Linked DNA regions of Homo sapiens: region 2 is linked to region 1. The links are contacts of gene promoters, found by promoter capture Hi-C in blood cells and fetal thymus (Javierre and others, 2016). All regions are on one chromosome and are shown on one strand. The core of a region is centred on a gene start or on the middle of the fragment in contact, and the rest is flanking DNA. Distances in the headings are between cores, read along the strand shown. Region 1 holds the start of NXPE3 (neurexophilin and PC-esterase domain family member 3). Region 2 has its middle 110 kb from the start of ZPLD1.

The links. Contacts are between HindIII fragments. The CHiCAGO score rates a contact against its expected background, and 5 or more counts as called.
Region 2: a fragment that was not itself captured here is called in contact with the fragment with the promoter of NXPE3 in region 1 in 5 of 17 cell types (naive B cells, M0 macrophages, total B cells and 2 more); the score reaches 7.5 in naive B cells.

What each region holds. Positions count from the first base shown.
Region 1 is chr3:101,777,651-101,781,692 of GRCh38, reverse strand. NXPE3 (neurexophilin and PC-esterase domain family member 3) reads right to left here and starts at 2,482. Exons shown (of 8, transcript NM_145037.4): 1 at 2,369-2,482. RefSeq lists enhancers at 1,760-1,809, 2,374-2,668 and a silencer at 2,220-2,569. The HindIII fragment of the contact is 3,350 bases long and covers 1,043-4,042 here.
Region 2 is chr3:102,539,929-102,543,682 of GRCh38, reverse strand. No RefSeq gene overlaps it. Among named protein-coding and RNA genes, the nearest start is that of ZPLD1, 110 kb to the right of the region's middle. The HindIII fragment of the contact is 520 bases long and covers 1,961-2,480 here.

The sequences.
Region 1 (4,042 bases), core at 1,233-3,732:
TTGAGTGATCCTGTTTTCAAATGTCAGACCACCACTTACTCATGCTTTATTTTTATAATATGTGCAAAGAACAAGCAAAAAGTTAAATGCATGCTCTGCCTTACATGTGGAACCCAGTATTTGTTGGAAGTGTTCTGCCAAATTTTTATTAAGCCTACTTCCATATCCAAGACTCATAGTGGCCAATCTAACTTCTTTATGGCCTGTGACAACAACCCCAGACTGCCATTAGGGTTCCTACCCCCATCTCACAAGAGAATTACAAAGCAGTCACTTACATCATTTGGAATTACAATTGTCAGTAACACAAATGAAATTCCTGAGTTCAATATTAAACAAAGAAAATCAGACAGCAACCCTATCCTCTGGGGAGCTAATGTTCTCAGGCAACCATTCCACAAAGATAATATATTATAGGACAACTGCATAGAAACTGTCCAGTTTCTGAGGCAGTCCCTATCCTAACTACTCTGACCTGTTGGCCAAATAAATGTAACTGTACTAGTCACAGCAAGTGTCTGGAACTTTAGTTCAGAATATATAGTTCAGAACAATAGTAAGAGACAAAAGCACAGATTTACATGGAAAATATCTACACTTAAATGCATATATTTCAAACTTTGCAAAGAGTAGCTGTATTTCATAGGATGCTGAGTAAGACCTTGAAACAGGGCAGGATCTACAGAATGAAGAACTGGAGACCCATCCAGGACCCTAACAATGATGGGTTAACCAAATAGGGTCAATCCTTGAAAAAAGATGAAGCAGGGGCAGTAGTCTGCAGGACTTGTTTCCACAGATTCCATTTCTCCTTCGTGTCCCGCAGCCTCACATGCACAAAGTGCTGACTCATCTGGACCTTCCCTTGCCCTTCTTCCAAAGCAGGGCCCCATGTATTCATGGAGGTTACATAGCAAGTGGAGAAGTAATAAAATCAGTTATATAAGTCACACTGTACTAAGTGCTATTTTTTAAATATTGAACACATTGATAGGTTGTGGTCCTCAACCCTGCATGAACATTAATAATCATCGTGGAAGCTTTTTAAAATACAAACAACTGGGCCCCACTCAAACAATTAAATCAGAATCTGTAGGAATAGGCCCAAGAAGTAGCTTTTTTTAAAAAGGTCCCTAGATGATTACAACATACAGCCAAGTGGGAGAACCACTAGTATAGAGTGGCCAGGGACTGTTATTCGTTTCAGTTGGTAAAAGGATGGCCTTTCCAAAATGATGTTTGAATTGTAACTTAAATTGTCAGGTCAGGACAACCCAATTCCCAGGCAATGGGGAAGGCTAACCCCACTTCAGTGATTTATCCCTTCGTTTCCTTTCTCAGTAACAAATAACAGCACTCTATTGGCCCCAAAGAGATTGTGAGGATAACAGACATGGAAAAAAAAATACTAAACAAATTCAAAGAAAAGCAGAACCCAAACACTACGGAGAAATAGTATACTGCTGCCTCCAAACAATTATCAGGGTCTGGGAGTCCTGCCAGTTTCAAATATATCCTGATGTTCCAAATGATAATTAACCACAGTGAGGAGCGGGGAGGCCCACCAAAGCAGTGTGATTCTTTATCTTTAGGAAATGTGGCAACAATCCCCCTTTAATGTAAATAATGAAAAGCAAAGAAAATTTACAATTTTGCACAAATGCTGCATAAATCCTGCCTCGGAACCCCTCTTATTACCACCCTAGTGGCCTTTGATCAGGCAGAAATGGGCAACAGGCCAGGGTCTCCATATCACACCTTGTAAAGTTACACTCGTTTCTCCCCATACGACCTGAATCTGATGTCCCCAAACGGCAGCTCAGTAAGGCCAGAACAGTCCACCGTGTGACAGCAGCGCCAGCCAAGAGGCAGCTGGTGCCCAGAGCAGCGATGAGCCGAGAGATATGAGATGGGCAGGGAGGCGTCGCCAAGTGCTCCGCACCGGGTTAGTGAAGGTGCCTGGAGGACAGAAGTCTTTCGCTGCGGCGTGGAGGTCCGAACTGTACCGAGCTGTGGCGTTGCCGCAAGTGGAGGAAACTGAGGATGGAGATGCTCGCTCCCGGCCCCGCCCCGCCCCGCCCCGCCGGTACTAGCCTGGGCTCCGGCTTCTTAGCTGCGACGCTTTGGCAACCCAGGGCTCCAATTCTGCCTATGCCTTCGACCCGGGCCTCCCCTCCCTGGCACCTATGCCCACAGCCACGACTCCAGGGGCTGCACCTATCAGCACGGGGCTGGGGACTCGGGAGCAGATGCGCGCGGAGGGAGGGGCTTCGCAGTCTAGGAGCGCGCTGGCAGAGCCGGGCAATGGGTCGCTCCGCCCGCAGCGGCCCCTCCCGACGTCCGCACACAGACCACATCCAGCACTCACCTCCGGGACCCGCCCGCCCTTCGCTCTCCGGGGGCCAGGGATCCTGACGCCCCGGTCGGTCGCCGCAGCGCCAGGCCGCTAGCCCCCCGCTTCCTCACCCGGCGACGTCTCCTCACCTCCGACCCCCGGCTACGATTGGTGGAGCTTCGGCGGGGGCGGGCCGAGGGCGTTGACTGACAGCAGCACGCGCCGGGCGGAACCCACAGGCCTGGAAGCGAAGTTGGCACCCTGGCGCTCTACGCCGCCAAGCTCCTGCTCGCGACGCGACACTGCAGCTGTCGCCCCGCGGATCGAGGTCTGGCCCCTCTCACGACCCAACTCCTCGTGAACTTCGGACGTCTGAGTTTCCTGGGAGCATCCACCTACCTCAAGGCTTTTCGCTTGTCAGCGAAAGTGCCCACAACCGCAGTTGACTCTAGTAGGGCAGTCTTTCCTGTGGAGTGATGGAATTTATTGTGCCCTGAACCAGAGAAATGCGATTTGCCAAGTATAAGCACGGATATAGCGGATCCTTGAATCTTTTCCTTGCTTTGACATTAGTCAACAACTTCTACTCGCCAGTAAAACAGCCCGTTCCTTTTACTCTCACTGTACATGATGTCGGTCTCTTGGCAAAGCATACTTTCCTCACCCTCCACCATCCCCAATTCTGGGTTATCCTATTTTGGACATTTTTCTAACTGGTAAAACGTCGGTAGCAGTTTTGTGAAATTCAGGAACTGAGAGGAGTCCTGAGAAGACACTTGTTCAAGAAACCAGAAGGAATTGTGGGCTGCACCGTGTTTCTCTGTGCTTGGAGCACAGTGGGGTTAACACAGGCCCCAAAAGCAGGCCTGCCCCCGGACTATTACCCCAAGGTTTAAGAAAAATAATTAATGTACATGACAACTAAGTATTTTTCCATTTCTTGACCATAATGGACTCTGCATGCTCATTCAGATGTTTTCATGGCAGGCCTGCTTCGTGGGCAACCAGATCCGTGAATGGGATAAAAGGAAGTTCTGCCACAGGGTGGAAGATCTCTTCTGTAGTAATGATCTTCTTTTTTTTTTTTTTAATATACTTTAAGTTCTAGGGTACATGTGCACAACGTGCAGGTTTGTTACATATGTATACATGTGCCATGTTGGTATGCTGCACCCATTAACTCGTCATTTACATTAAGTATATCTCCTAATGCTATCCCTCCCCCCTCCCCCTACCCCACAACATGCCCAGGTGTGTGATGTTCCCCTTCCTGTGTCCAAGTGTTCATTTATGCAGCCAACAAACACATGAAAAAATGCTCATCAGCACTGGCCATCAGAGAAATGCAAATCAAAACCACAATGAGATACCATCTCACACCAGTTAGAATGGCGATCATTAAAAAGTCAGGAAACAACAGGTGGTGGAGAGGATGTGGAGAAGTAGGAACACGTTTACACTGTTGGTGGGACTGTAAACTAGTTCAACCATTGTAGTAATGATCTGATACTCCTTCTTCCTCGAGGAAATACAGCACTCTGGGACCTTTTGAGGACATAAAAGGGTAGCTTCCTTCTGCTATCGAAGAAGAGCCTCATATACTAGACTTCTGCTCTGATTATGCTTTATCTCCCAGTAGGATCCCCCGCCTCATGTACAGCTTGGCTGTCTTACAAGTGGTAAAATACTTAGGACAAGATGACTTCT
Region 2 (3,754 bases), core at 971-3,470, 760 kb before region 1:
TTTCTTGCTTCATTGTTTCCTACTCATACAAGATGTTGGTAACTATTAAGAAAGTTTAAAACATTAAATAAAAGCTGCCATACATTTGCAGGTAAAAGAAAATAAAGATAAGCTAATTTTGAAAACATCATTTCATTCACATTAGTGGAAATGCCAAAATTAATTTGGTTTCAAAATTTAGAAAAGACCATATATAAAGAGAGAAGATGGGTTTTTTAAACCTGAAATTTCTTCTACATCTCAGAAGATAGGTTTCTAACCAGAAGCTCAATGTCTCACAAAGCACTATAATACTAATTTCCACTTATTACAAAACAGCTTTTTTGCCTGTATGACATTGCCTCTTGGACCCCATACATGACTTTAATTAAGATCTAACTTATTCATGACTATAATTCAGATCTAACAACCAGTCTAGTCAGATCAGGGTAATTAGTCCCAGAGGGTATTGTAAGAGAGCTCATTTTTCTTTTCATCTTTATATTCTGGCAAACAAATTGGGGTACTGATTCATTTGGAGAATTCTATAGTTCAGAGAACTCAAAAAGTGGGAGTAAATAAGCTAAGTAAATTATTTTAAAGAGGTTCTTATAAAGGGCTCATGTGCTGGTTAATTTGGTTTGTGTTCCTTTACTGTGGTCCAAAACGAAACAGGATGATTAACCAGCATCAAGCTAATAAACTTTTAACAGCCTGTTGCCAAGTTCATTAGAAAATTTAACAGCAAAGAATTAACCCTTATATCACTTGCCCACTTGAATTTTGGTGGTTTTAAAAGCATTTATCTTACCCTTACTTCATTCCTTTTTGTTATCAAGGATTCTATTAAGAGCTTACTTCAGTCAACTGGAAAGATCAAACATCTTATATAGACCAGGATGGGGTAAAGTGAAGCGATTTTTCCCTTTAAACTGTTGTTATTACAGGATTCCTTTTTGCACTACCATTGTCTGATGCTGTAGGACATCCAAGCTTATTCTTAGACGTCACTATTCTTGCAACCACCTTAAACATTATAGAAGCCTCCTCCTTTTCCTTTATCTCTCTCCATTATCCTTACTTTGTAACACAGTTTCACAGTGATTCTAAATATTATAACCAAATAATTCAGAGCTTCAGGGACTTTTAAAATGTGACTTATTAAATTCCCAGCCTAACAGGGATTTTGTTTAGTTTAGCCCATTCTGTTTAGTTTAGTTTAGTTTAATGCATTATAAACAGCAAGGCATTGAATTTACAATAATTTTAAGGTCAAGAATTATCTATGATGGATACTCTGTACCAAGTAGTCAAAAATTATGTAGGACTTTAAATCATTTTCAAAAATATATATATAAGGAATGCCATATGCCAAATAACTAAGTAGATGGCCTTAAGTAGATGGCTGTATTTTGTTTTGGGTTTTTGTTTGTTTCTTTTTTGTTTTTTATGGGGTTTTCTTTGTGTGTGTGTGTTTGTTTTGAGATGAGGTCTTCCTCTGTCGCCCAGGATGGAGTGCAATGGTACTATCTTGGCTTACTGCAACCTCCACCTCCCAGGTTCAAGCAATCCTCCCACGTCAGCCTCCTATGTAGCTAGGATCACAGACGTGCCACCACGCCCAGCTAATTTTTTGTATTTTTGGTAAAGAGAGGGTTTCCCCATGTTGTCCAGGCTGGTCTCAAACTCCTGAGCTCAGGCGGTCCACCTAGCTTGGCCTCCCAAAGTGCTGGGATTACAGCTGTGAGCTGCCACACCCGGTATAGATGGCCAGTGTTGATGGTTACAGATAAGACATGAACCTTCCTATCCAAAAGACAATAGTTCAGATGGGATGGGGCTAGAACAATGGGCTGTAAATCAGGAGACTACAATTACCATCCCAATAATATCTTGATCCCATTTATTTTTTTACATTACTGTAATAAGACACTAAGTAGAGCCTTTGGTAAGAGTGGTAGACTTCTGAGTCTTAAAAGCTTGGATTTAAATTCTAACTCCATTATCTAGTTGGCTACATAACCTTGGAAATATTATCTACTTTTTGGATATTCTTCCCTTAAAAGTAAAATGGAATTAGTACTCTAAGATCACAGGATTGTAGCAAGGATTAAATGAGATTATGTTTACTGGCTCAGAAAGCAAAGTACCCAGAGTAGTTTCCTCCTCCTTGTTTCCTTCCTTCATCCCTCTCTCCTCTTACCCCTACTCTTTTTTCTTCCAGGTGCATTTTACTGAGGAATATTTCTCCTCTAAATTACTAGTCATAAATTTGGAATACAGAGGCTATCTCTGAAAAAAGAAGTTGAGGGATAAGTCCCCTTTCTTCATCCCTCTTCAATTTCTTTTCTCCCACCAAACTGCAAGATTAATAATAACTGACCCTCTTGACAGTAAGCAATTGATGTCAAGAATTACTTAGATTGTAGCAAAATATTATTATAGCTGCCAAAGGTAAGTCTTTACCTTCAGCAGATAGAGAAAATAGCATGTTCAAAGCTTAGCATAAATGGGCAGGAATTTTTGGGAAATAGTGAAGGACACAAAGTGGGCAGAGAGCAGGTGTGTGAGATTGTGAGGTAAGAAGGAAATGGATAGGGATAAATGAGGCTGAATAGACAGGCTGAGACCAGGTAGAGAATGTCGTATAAATCAAGATTTCCTATGCATTAACTAGATTTGCCTTAACCAGTGGTCTTCAGAAATTACAACAATTATATTTAAAGCCTATATTTCTCTTTTATTCTGGTGTCGTCCAGATTCAAAAGTTCCAGAAGAACCTCGTCATGTAGAGTAGACTTAATTATAAGGCAGCCAATATCATCAGGATGTTATTGTAGAAATTATCACTTTATAGAAAGATGGGAAATTATTTCTATGAAAATAAACATACACCTGCAAATTCATGATACATCCAATGACAGTACCAGGATAATTGAATTATTCTATTAGAACAGAATTGGGTTATTACTTATACTCTAGCTTATATCCTAATTTTCCCAAGACACATAAAGAGTCATGGAATCTCATCAGAATAAAGGGATTTCCTTTTATGCTTAACTTCTGGAAACTCCTATTAAGATATATCTAAAACTTGAGTCTATGCAGGGAGAGGCATCCTGAATATAGCACATGGAACATACTCCACCACCCAAACCCAGCTTATATTTCCAGTCACTTCTCTCTGGAATCCTTCTTCGTCAAACTCCACACCTACAAAAATCCCATGAACACACATTCCACCAGTCTGCACTGTCCCAAGATTACTGAACCTGTCTTACTCTTTCTTACACTTGAGCCTTTGCATATGCTACTTTCTCTGCCTGAAATATCTTCTTCTGTCTTATTCACCTGGCCAAAGACTAACTGTCTAATCTGCTTGAGTTATTCCTTTACAATTTGGTCAAGGTACTACATGAACAAGATAGATGGAAAATAACTGGTTGGATATTGTGGGTCACAAATTGGAGAAAGATACTAGTAGGGATCTGAGGTAGCATGGAAATCAGTGATGTCCCCATGTTTATGAAGGCTAAATTCAGAGCCCAAACAAATACTTGTGGATCATCTATCATACATATTCTTTGATGCCAGTACTCAAATGCTTAAGGAAAATCTCTCAATACAGAATTTTCCTGGTTCTATTTCTTCTCTTTTTGCTTAGAACTGGATTTAATTGTCTAGACTTTTTATAGCTGTATCTCTGCTTTCACTTTTTCCAAATACAAGCCTAGTCCTTAAAGCTCACATGTCACTGGTCACCGCATCAACTTGG